2 separate regions of the Homo sapiens genome follow, and region 2 is linked to region 1. The links are contacts of gene promoters, found by promoter capture Hi-C in blood cells and fetal thymus (Javierre and others, 2016). All regions are on one chromosome and are shown on one strand. Each heading gives the region's core, a stretch centred on a gene start or on the middle of the fragment in contact. The rest is flanking DNA. Distances are from core to core; before and after follow the strand shown.

Region 1 (5,950 bases), core at 550-3,049:
GCTGTTTTCACGGGGTTACATTTGCACTGATGGTACCAACGCAGTGATGGGTAAAACTGCTGGCACTGTAACCCAAGTGAAGACAATGGCCCCAAACTATGCCAGCAGCCATTGCATTCCTTGCCTTCATATACTCTCAGTTTTTCGTTTTTGTTTTGTTTGTTTGTTTTTTGAGACTGACTCTCACTCTGTCGCCCAGGCTGGAGTGCAGTAGCGCAATCTTGGCTCACTGCAACCTCCACCTCCTGGGTTCAAGCGATTCTCATGCCTCAGCCTCCCAAGTAGCTGGGATTACAGGCATGTGCCCGCCCACCCAGCTAATTTTTGTATATACATATATATTTTTTGAGACAGAGTTTCACTCTCTTGTTGCCCAGACTGGAGTGCAATGGCGCAATTTTGGCTCACTGCAACCTCTGCCTCCCGAGTTCAAGCAGTTTTCCTGCTTCAGCCTCCCGAGTAGCTGAAGCTCCTGAGGTTACAGGCATGCACCACCACGCCCAGCTAATTTTTGTATTTTCAGTAGAGATGGGCATTCCCCATGTTGGCCAGGCTGATCTTGAACTCCTGACCTCAAGTGATCTGCCTGCCTTAGCTCCCAAAGTTCTGGGATTACGGGTGTGAACCACCGCACCTGGCTTACACTCTTAGTTTTTTAAAAATGCCAGTTGTGCTTGTAAATGTCCTTGAAGAAGCAGTGAAGACTGTTACTCTTATTAGATTGATTAATTATAAATGTTTTTAATATTCTTTGTGACAAAATGGGAAGTACACATAAAGCATCTCTGTTGCAAACCCAGTATGATGGTTGTTTTGAAGAAAAGCAATTTGCAGCCTTGATTTGTTCACCTTGAGTTGCAAGTGAACTTAATCGCTTTGTTCATTGAACATCATTTTTACTGGAAAGGACAATTAATAAACCATGGTTATTCAGAGTACCCAACTGGCAGACATTTTCCTTCAGTTAATCAAGTGAGCCTGTTGTTTCAGGGAAAACAACTGACAGTATTTGTTGCCAATGATAAGATTCAGCTTTTAAGTGAAAATAAGAATTTTGGCAGAGTTTTGAACTTGAAGCTTCCCAATATTTAAAGACTTTTCTAATGAGATTGGTGGTGATATTAATGAATGTGATTTTTTAAACATTGATTTAATATTACAAAATATGTCAACATTTGGAAGAGCTGTGTAACTCAGTGAAACACTATTTTCTTTCTTTTTTTTTTTTTGGAGACGGAGTCTCGCTCTGTGGCCCAGGCTGGAGTGCAGTGGCAGGATGCTGGCTCACTGCTACCTCCGCCTCCTGGGCTCCTGGGTTCAAGCAATTCTCCTGCCTCAGCCTCCTGAGCAGCTGGGAGTACAGGCGTATGCTGCCACACCTGGCTAGTTTTTTTTTTTTTTTGTATTTTAATAGAGACGGGGTTTCACCATCTTGCCCAGGCTGTGGTCTTGAACTCCTGAGTTTAGTCAATCCGCCCACCTTGGCCTTCCAAAGTTCTAGGATTACAGGCACCCAGCCAACAGTATTTTCTAAATACCAATGTATGATGTTGTAAATTCAAGTATGGATAAAAGATCTACTCAAAATGCAAGGCAGAGATATGGATCTTAATTTTTAAATAACATTTTTTTTCAGTCTGGGGAACATAGACCCCATTTCTTTTTGTTTGTTTGTTTGTTTTTGAGACGGAGTCTCACTCTGTCACCCGGGCTGGAGTGCAGCGGCGCGATCTCGGCTCACTACAACCTCCGCCTCCCAGGTTCAAGCTATTCTCCTGCCTCAGCCTCATGAGTAGCTGGGATTACAGGTGCCCGCCACAACGCCCGGCTAATTTTTATGTTTTTAGTAGAGATGGGGTTTCACCACGCTGGTCAGGCTGGTCTCCAACTCCTGACCTTTTGATCCGCCCACCTCGGCCTCCCAAAGTGCTGGGATTACAGGTGTGAGCCACCGCGCCCAGCCAAGGGAGACCCCATTTCTACAAAAAATAAAAAAATTAGCTAGGCATGGTGGCATGCACCTGTAGTCCCAGCTACTTGGGAGGCTGAGGTGGGAGGATCACTTGAGCTCAGGAGGTTGAGGCTGCCGTGAGCACCACTGCACTCCAGCCTGGGTGACAGAATGAGACCCTGTCTCAAAAAAAAAAAAAAAGTGTATGGAGAATAGGGTCTCACTTTGTTGCCCAGGCTGGTCTCCAACTCCTGCCTGGGCTCAAACGGTACTCCTGACTTGGCCTCCCAAAGTGTTGGGATTATAGGAATGAGCCACCATGTCTGGCCTAAATGGATTTTAATGTAACAATGTAAAATGTTCATTGATGTGCTTTCAGATTCCACACTGCAACTAACTTTCAAAAGCTGCTTTTGCTGGGTGTTGTGGTTTATGCCTGTAATTCCAGGTACTTGGGAGGCTGAGGCAGGAGTGTCACTTAAGCCCAGGAGTTCAGAGCTGTGGTGGGCTATGGTCATGCCACTGCACTCCAGCCTGGATGACAGAGCGAAACCTTGTCTCTAAAAAAAAAGAAGCTTCTGCTTCCCAAGTTCTGGTGTAGTGTTAAAGAAGAATACGTCTATTTATCTGAAAAGGCTATGAAAATCCTCTTCCATTTTCCAAATACGTATCTCTGAGGTCAAGTTTTTTTCATATACCTCAACCAAAGCAACATACTGCAACAGACTCAATGCAGAGGCAGATAGGAGAATGCAACTATTTGATTCTAAGCCAAACATTAAAGAGATTTGCAAAAATGTGAAACAGTGCCTTTTTTTTGAAAATATAGTTATTTTATTAAAAATGTTTATATTACTATGTAATGGGTTATATTAATCATTAATTGTTTTTATAATTAATCATTTGAGAAATTTCTGTTTAAATTTCTAGTATGTAAATATCTATAAATATAACTCACATAAACAAAAGCTCTTTGGAATCTTCAATAAATTTTAAGAGATATAGGGCCTCTGAGACCAAAACATCTGAAACCACTTCCCTGGTGACCAGTGGCCAGCAGATGAGACTGTGCTGAGGAAGCCGATATGAATTTGATTGCTGGATGGGGAATTCTTGGCCCAGAGCCCTCTGAGAGGGATGTATGACTGTCCCTAAAAAATCTCTCTTTCATCAGAATGGACGCGATCTCTCTATCTGGTCCAGTGGCAGCCGGCACATGAAGAAGCAGACATTTGTGGTACATGCAGGGACAGATACAAACGGAGATATCTTTTTCATGGAGGTAGGTGCTGGTTCATGCTGGGGGCCCAAAGGGCTATTGAGAGTCACAGGGAACTCATAGGACCGATGCCAGGATATTTTTCTCATTTATCTCATTCATCTTCATGATCTATTTATCATTAAATTATCAGATTGGTTTTTTTGTTTTTTGCGTGTGTGTTTTTTTGAGATAGTGTCTCGCTCTGTCACCCAGGCTGGAGTGTAGTGGCTTGATCTCGGCTCACTGCAACCTCCGCCTCCCGGGTTCAAGCAGTTCTCCTGCCACAGCCTCCCAAGTAGCTGGGATTACAGGCGCCAGCCACCAAGCCCAGGTGATTTTTCTATTTTTAATAGAGATGGGGTTTGATCATGTTGGCCAGGCTGGTCTCAAACTCCTGACCTCAAGTAATCCACCCACCTTGGCCTTCCAAAATGCTGGTATTATAGGCATGAGCCACCGCACCCGGCCAAATTATCAGATTGTTATTCAAATAATTAAATTTTATATAGTAGATGATACCCATTTCTTTTTTTTTTTTTTTTTGAGACAGAGTATCGCTCTGTCACCCAGGCTGGAGTGCAGTGGTGTGATCTTGGCTCACTGCAGCCTCCACCTCCCAGGTTCAAGCAATTCTCCTGCCTCAGCTTCCTGAGTAGCTAGGATTACAGGCATGCGCCACCATGCCCGGCCAATTTTTTGTATTTTAGTAGAGGTGGGGTTTCACCATGTTCGTTGGCCAGGCTGGTCTTGAACTCCTGACCTCAAGTGATCCACCTGCCTCGACCTCCCAAAGTGCTGGGATTACAGGTGTGAGCCACTGCGCCCGGCCCCATTTCTTTTATACACGTGCGCGCGCACACACACGCGCACACACATATACATAAAGATATCTATATATAGATGATATAGTCACATTGTTCATAAATCAGAATAACAGAAAATAGTACACATTGGGAGGTCTTGCACTCATTCTTGTCCCCTTCCACTGAATTTCCCACTCCCCTCACCCCTTCATCCTATAGACAACCACTTTTATTGGTTTCCTTTGTAAATTCCAGTGGATTTTTTTTTTCTTTTTCTTTTTTTTTTTTTTTTTTTTTGAGACGGAGTCTCACTCTGTCGCCCAGGCTGGAGTGCAATGGCTTGATCTCAGCTCACTGCAACCTCCACCTCCTGGGTTCAAGCGATTCTCCTGCCTCAGGCTCCCAAGTAGCTGGGATTACAGGCGCCCACCACCGCACCCAGCTAATTTTTTGTATTTTTAGTAGGGATGGGGTTTCACCATGTTGGTCAGGCTGGTCTCCAACTCCTGACCTCACTGATCCACCCGCCTCGGCCTCCCAAAGTGCTGAGATCATAGGCGTGAGCCGGTGCACCCGGCCTTCCAGTGGACTTTTATGCAAACAATAAAATATGAACACAAATTCTTATTTTCCTCCTTTCTTTTTTTTCTTTGAGACAGAGTGTTGCTCTTTTGCTCAGGCTGGAGTGCAGTGGTCCAAACTCAGCTCACTGCAACCTCTGCCCCTTGGGTTCAAGTGATTCTCCTGCCTCAGCTGCCTGAGTAGCTGGGATTACAGTCGCCCACCACCATGCCCAGATAATTTTTCTATTTTTAGTAGAGACGGGGCTTCACCATATTGGCCAGGCTGGTCTCAAACTCCTGACCTCAAGTGATCTGCCCACCTTAGCCTCACAAAGTGCTGGGATTATAGGCGTGAGCCACCCCGCCTGGCCTATTTTTCTCCTTTCTTTCAGAAAGATAGCACATCTTATCCATTGCTTTATCCCTTGCTTTTTTCATTTAACATTGTCCTGGTCCTCTTCTGTATCAGTACCAAGAAAGCTTTCCCATTGGTTTTATGGCTACATGTATTCCACTGTGTGACTGTGCCTTAATTTATTTAACCAGTCAGTACATATGGATCCTTGGGTTGCTTCCAAATTTGCTGTTACTGATAGTCATACTGTGAATGATGCTGTGCCTGCTTCATTTCATACATGTGCAAGTGTGTCTAAGGATTCCCAGAAATGAGATTGCTGGGTCAGAGGGACAATGCATTTGTAATTTTGGTTGATATAATTCTTAAGTGTCTCATAACACGTAATACCCCCTTTGCCATTAATTTTGTTGAAGAAATTGGATCGTTTGCCCTGTGGAGTCTCCTACATTCTAGATTTTTTGCTGATTGTGTCTCCTTTGTATTAGCGTGTTTCCTGTCACATATTTCTCATAGACTGGTAGTTCAGTTTAGAGGTTTGATCACTTTCAGATTCACTCTTTTGGGAAGAATACTTAATGAGTGGTGCTATACGCTTCCTATTGCCTCATATGGTTGTCCCTCTCTTACACATCAGTGGGCTCAGATGTGGGCAACCTGATCTGCCCACCAGAAAGTTCCTCATTTGTCTTCTGATTTTGCCTATGGTATTTTTTGACACACATAAATTTTTTATTTGTATATAACTTTTTTTTTTTTTTGAGACAGAGTCTCTCTCTATCGCCCAGGCTGGATGCAGTGGCATGATCTCGGCTCACTGCAACCTATACCTCCCGGGTTCAAGCAGTTCTCCTGCCTCAGCCTCCCAAGTAGCTGGGTTTACAGGTGCCTGCCACCACACCCGGCTAATTTTTGTGTTTTTAGTAGAGATGGGGTTTTACCATGTTGGCCAGGGTGGTCTCGCACTCCTGACCTCAAGTGATCCACCCACCTCGGCCTCCCAAAGTGCTGGGATTA
Region 2 (5,875 bases), core at 1,841-4,340, 280 kb after region 1:
CCTGCCTCAGCCTCCCAAAGTGCTGGGATTACAGGCGTGAGCCATCGCGCCTGGCCTTGAAACCCCGCCCCCCCCCCTTTTTTTTTTGAGACGGAGTCTGGCTGTGTCGCCAGGCTGGAGTGCAGTGGCTTGATCTCGGCTCACTGCAGCCTCCACCTCCCAGGTTCAAGCGATTCTCCCGCCTCAGCCTCCCAAGTAGCTGGGACTACAGGCTTGCACCCAGCACACCCAGCTAATTTTTGTATTTTTAGTAGAGACAGGGTTTCACCATGTTGGCCAGGATGGTCTTGATCTCTTGACCTTGTGATCCGCCTGCCTCGGCCTCCCAAAGTGCTGGGATTACAGGCGTGAGCCACCGCGCCCGGCCGAAACCCCTTTCTTAAGTGAAAGCTTGAACACAGACTAGCAGAAACACTCTGGTTAAAGAGGCCTACAGCCCTGTCTGCTGGGCTTGCCCCTACACCTCCCATTTGACACTCAGGGGCCCTGGTAACCCGGGGGATTCAGGGGAGTCTCTGAGTTCCCCTCAGCTCCAGTTGGCTGCATTTTCCTGTGGTTATTTTATGGTCCTTGGTCTGCCACTCACGCAGGCACTGGCTCTCTGTGTCAACGCTCTGCATGACCGTTACTGTTTAAGCCCCATCTGAGCAGGAAAGGAAATCGCTGCTCCCTGACCCCTTTCCTGGCCTCACCAGGGGCCCTTCCTGCACAGAGGAGGCGAGAACAGTTGGGCTTTGAGGTAGCTTCCTCCCCCTTGAAATCAGAGTAAAAGAGAAGGTGACTCCTTTCTCTTTGCTTGGAGGCTGGTTACTCAGAAGAAGGAGTGGCGAGCCAGGGGCTACTGGGGATGGACAGGGACAGCAACAATTCCAGCAGGGCTTTGGCAAGGCTGTGAAGTCAGCAGCTTTGTTCCTTGGGAGTGATGGATTGGAGAGGACAGATAGCCAGATCTGGGTTCAGGTCCTGGCTCTACCACTCACACTGTGAAACCTTGGGCAGGTTCCCTAACTTCTCTGGGCATGGCTTCCTCCATGTAAATGGGGAAGAGACCTCACACACAGGCTTGCTGTGGGGGTGTGCTGAGATAGGTGTGAACATGGTTTGTCAACGGCAGTGCTGAGGTGTGCAGATGCTTCTGTCGGTTGCCCTGACAAAAGTGATCTGGTCCAGTTCTTGACGTAAGGGTTTAGGGACTCAGTCACTCCTACCCCTGAGAGCTTGGTGAAGGCACTGCTTAACTCAAAGGAGTCACTCTCTGATGTAGGGATTCCATCCTGCTTCCTAGTAGGGCACGTGCTTTGGGGCTTGAATACCCAAAAGCCCTGATGTGGAAACAAAACAGGAAAGAAATGAGCTGGAGACAGCCTGGGATGTGGGCTGCTTTAGAAAATGCCCTGTATGTGTAGCTCTGTGTCTCTTAGAGACAGCAGGGACCTGCTGAGAAGGGTTGTCAGGTGTAGATGTGCAGAACGTCCCAGCTAGAATCTAGCTCACACTCCACATGTTAGAGCAGCACCTGGCGTAAAGTATGCCACCTTCTCATTCTCATACTAAAGACCCCAAGTTGCTAGCCAACTGAATGCTGTCTCCTTCCAGAGGAGGTGCTTTTTGTAATTCTCACAAAGGTGTCCTATGGATTAGTTAGGTGTCCCTTGGTTAGGACAGGGAGGAGGGAAGGGGCCATCCACAGTGGTGAAGATGGCACCTCACAAGTGTCCAGTGCATTCCCTTTTACAAAGTTCTTTTAGACACATGGTCTTGGCAAACCTACAAGACAGGTGGGCCGTCTCCCATTTTATAGATGAGAAAGCTGAGGCCCAACAAGGGAAAGCATTTTGGCCCAAGGTCACCCATGGAGCACTGAGGTTTTTTGACTCAAATTCCGTATGCCTTCCTGTCACTCTTCCCTCCTAGACACAGGTATGTCCAGCCAATTTGTTCTGTGCCTCAGTTTACCTTTTTGCAAAACTAGGAGAGGAGATCAGAGGAATGAGTCTTGGGATCCAGGGTGAGGAAGACAGAAAGCAAAACCAAACAAAAGCAAGCAAACACATTCTCTAGTGTTTTGTCTTCTGGGAACACGGAAAACAGCTCAGCTTTTCCATACCGCTGCTTTCCTAGTGGGTCCTGCCCCAGAAGCAGCTGCCCAGCAACCTCCTGACCAAGGCTGGTGCACCCCACCAGTGCCAAGGGTCTTCCTGTGCACCCAGTACCCAGCCTCCGTTTCACCCACACTGCCCAATTCCCAGATCCCTGGATCCTCGTCCTTCCCTGAACCCCCTTCCCTGAGCAGGTCAGAGGTGTGGGAGGGTGTGTCAGGTGGGTGTCATAGCTCCAGGGAAGGAAATGGCTGTTCCTGGCTCTGTCCAGGTGGGGTTCAAAATAGTCATCTTCAAAGAGAAAAACTGGGACACAGAGCTGGAGAGACCCAGAGCCCCGGAGCCAAGGCGGGAGGTGCAGCGATGTCAGGCTGAGGGGATCGCAGAGTTCCCCCTTGCCCTGCCACTCACCAGTTAACCCTTCCCTCAAGCCCTGCCAGAGCCCCCTCCCCAACCTACCTTGAAAGCCCCTCATCCTTCCAAGAAGTCCCACTTTCACAGAAGCCAATTAATCCTTATTTTTAAAAAACAAAAACCAATCCCTCTCCCCCGAGACCTTCCCTCCATCCATCCATCCCTTTGGAATGAAAGCCCTTGTGCCTGTTTCACGAAAAGGCTCCCAGGTCCTCCTTTCAAGGAAAAAGGACCCAATTTCCCCGCGCCTCCCCAGCCCTCGCTTCCAGTAAAGGGGGAACCTCGGCTCCCTGCCTCCCCTCAGCTGCCCTCACCTGGCTGGGGGCGGCGGTCGAGTCGGGTTCGGTCTGAGCCCGCGATCTGGCTCCGGGCTGCGGGCTGCGGGCTGCAGGCTGCAGGCTGCGGGTGCCGGGCTGCGCGCTGACCGCCCGCGCTGCGGCAGGGGCGGCGGGGGCTCCGGCTGCTTTTCCCGGCTCTGAGGCGGCAGCGGACAGGGTGCTGGGGCCAGGGGCCGGGCGTGGGGAGGCGTGAGGGAAAGGGAAGGTCAGCTAGAGAGGGAGCCGAGCGAGAGCGAAGAGGCGGGGGAGAGACGGGAGGGGGAGAGGAGGGGAGTAGGGGAGAGGGAGGGGCGAGCTGCGGGGCCTAGGGGCTCCGCACGGAGTCTGCGCCGAGCACTGGACCCTTCCTCATCTGTGACCTCCTTAGAGCTTCGTCCTCTGGGTCTAGAGAGCAGGCATCATTAATCTGAGCAGTTGGGGAAACTGAGGCCAGAGGCAGCAGCTAACGCGGGGTGGCCCAGAGCGCTCTACAGTCCAGCTTCCTTCCTAGTGTGGGGAGAGAGGGCTAGAGCTGGACTCAGAGGCTGGACTAGCCTTTGGGCTGCAAGGACAGTGGAAGGTGAGATTTTGGCTGGGACAGATGTCCAAGCTAAGTGGCCTTGGGGGAGAGGTCTGAAGGAAGAGAAGGATAAATGGGTCAATGTTGCCAGTAAAGGAAGAGCTGAAAATAACCTAGTTTTTCCTCCTCACCTCCAAATTGGAAAATGCCCACGGTCGGTTAGGAAAGAGGGAGAAGGGAGTCTGCAGGCATCAGAGGGGCAGCCTGCGTTCCCCGGGGTGAGGGGCAGTAAGGAGGAGAGTCCTTGGGGCAGAATGGAATTTTCTGCTGGGAAGGTTGCTCCTGCAAGAAGGGACAGGATTGAGAGGGCAATAGGTGGGGAAGAAAGGCCTCTGGAGAGGGAAACTGATGCCCTGCCTCGCTGGGGCCAGGCTAGCAAGAGTCCAGCAGGGCACCCGGGCTGGGAACAGCGGTCTTCCCATGGTAATACTCACCAGAGGCACTAGTGCTGGCCTCTACTCTGGGCTTCGAGCCCGTGGGATGGGGGCTCAGACTCCCTTTCTCTAGGCTGCTGTTCTCTCCCCTGACGGCTGTAGAGGTGACGACACTGCCTGGCACTCAGTAGATGCTGACTGAGTGGATGACTTTTGAAGAGCTCTACTTTCAGCAGCCAAGAGCTGGTGCCCTCTGCCTGGCCCTGGTTGACTCCAGAGCCATGGGCTCTAATTCTGCCTCTGCTGCAGGTCTGCTCTGTGGTCCCTGAGAGGCCTGGACCCCTGCAGAACCCCCGTCCTCTGGAGCTTTCCTTTTGGAGCTCTCAAAGTTTACCCCACCCCAGTTAATCTATTTGTCTCTAGGAAGATGTTGGTAGAGGTGATTGGCTCTGCTTCAAGGGTGTTAGGTGAATGATGGAATGAATTAACGAATATGTGCCAGAATAGAAAGGAATGAATGGAGGTGTTTTGGGCTGGATAATGAGGGTATTTGGTGACAGAGGGTGAAGCACCTGTCTAGCCCTTGTCAGATCACAACTGTCTCTTTCACCAACTTGAAAAGCTTGGGCCACAGGACTGTGGGGAGGACAAGAAGCAGGGTAAGGGTGGGATGAGCCACACAGGGATGTCGAAGGAGAGCTGGGGGATGCCAAAAGCCAACCTATGGCAATCTATGGCCCTTCTTAGGGCCATGGGCCCCTTCTGGATGAGAAGAGTGGAGCTGCTCTCCTGAGGGTGATTCCAATGGTGGGAGGGGAGGGGAGGGGAGAAGGTATATTATAGGATAATATAATCTCAGTTGAGGTTTGGTTCAGGCTGGGATTTGACACTCCCTGGATCCACAAGAGTTCTCACCAGAGAAGTGAGGGTTGAGGTAGAGATGGGTGGCTGGGGCAGATGACATCAGGATTTGCATCAGGGGACTGGGATAGGGAGGAAGCCACTGGGAAAGGGATATAGAGAAAGATGATGCCATGAGCTGGTGGGTGTAAGGCAGATGGGTGGGCTCCAGAATGGGAGTTAAGAAGAGGTGGCAGCAGGATCCAGAGAAAAGCCCTAGGCTGGTTATAGTCCCTGCTCCCTCCTCTCTTGTTTTGCAGCCACAATTTTATTTATTTTTGAGAGAGGGTCTTGCTGTGTCACCTGGGCTGGAGTGCAATGGTATGATCTTGGCTCACTGCAGCTTTGACCTTGCGGGCTCAAGTGATTCTCCCACCTCAGCCTCCCAGGTAGCTGGGACTACAGGTGCAGGTCACCATGCCTGGCTAATTTTTTTTAAAATTTTTTGTAGAGACGAGGTCTCACTCTGTTGCCCAGGCTGGTCTTAAACAACAATTATTTTATTTATTTTTTAATTGAGACGGGTATGGCTGGGCATGGTGGCTTACGCCTATGATATTAGCACTTTGGGAGGCCAAGGTGGGAAGATCGCTTGAGCTCAGAAGTTTGAGACCACTCTGGGCAACAGAGTGAGACCCCATCTCTCTCTCTCTTTTTTTTTTTTTTTTCTGAGACAGACTCTCGCTCTGTTGCCCAGGCTGGAGTGCAATGCTGCGATCTTGGCTCACTGCAACCTCCGCCTCCCGGGTTCAAGCGATTCTCCTGCCTCAGCCTCCTGAGTACCTGGGATTACAGGAGCGCGCCACCATGTCCGACTAATATTTTGTATTTTTAGTAGAGACGGGGTTTCACCATGTTGGTCAGGCTGGTCTTGGAACTCCTGACCTCGTGATCCGCCCGCCTTGGCCTCTCAAAGTGCTGGGATTACAGGCGTGAGCCACCGCGCCCAGCTGTCCCCATCACTTAAAAAAAAAGTTAAAAAAATTAACATTAAAATATATATAAATTGAGACGGGTTCTTTTTTCTTTTCTTGAGATGGAGTTTTGCTCTTGTTGCCCAGGCTGGCGTGCAATGGAGCAATCTTGGCTCACCGCAACCTCCCGCTCCCAGGTTCAAGTGATTCTCCTGCCTCAGCCTCCTGAGTAGCTGGGATTACAGGTATGCACCACCACCCTGGCTAATTTTGTATT

The links. The method cuts DNA at HindIII sites, captures the fragments that hold promoters and counts their contacts. A CHiCAGO score of 5 or more calls a contact.
Region 2: a contact is called between the fragment with the promoter of C1QTNF4 here and a fragment that was not itself captured in region 1, in 1 of 17 cell types (M2 macrophages). The highest score is 5.6, in M2 macrophages.

Annotation. Positions count from the first base shown.
Region 1 is chr11:47,312,095-47,318,044 of GRCh38, forward strand. MADD (MAP kinase activating death domain) reads left to right here. Exons shown (of 37, transcript NM_001376571.1): 30 at 3,126-3,233. Among named protein-coding and RNA genes, the nearest start is that of MYBPC3, 38 kb to the right of the region's middle. The HindIII fragment of the contact is 1,449 bases long and covers 1,076-2,524 here.
Region 2 is chr11:47,591,321-47,597,195 of GRCh38, forward strand. C1QTNF4 (C1q and TNF related 4) reads right to left here and starts at 3,091. Exons shown (of 2, transcript NM_031909.3): 1 at 2,828-3,091. The HindIII fragment of the contact is 4,016 bases long and covers 389-4,404 here.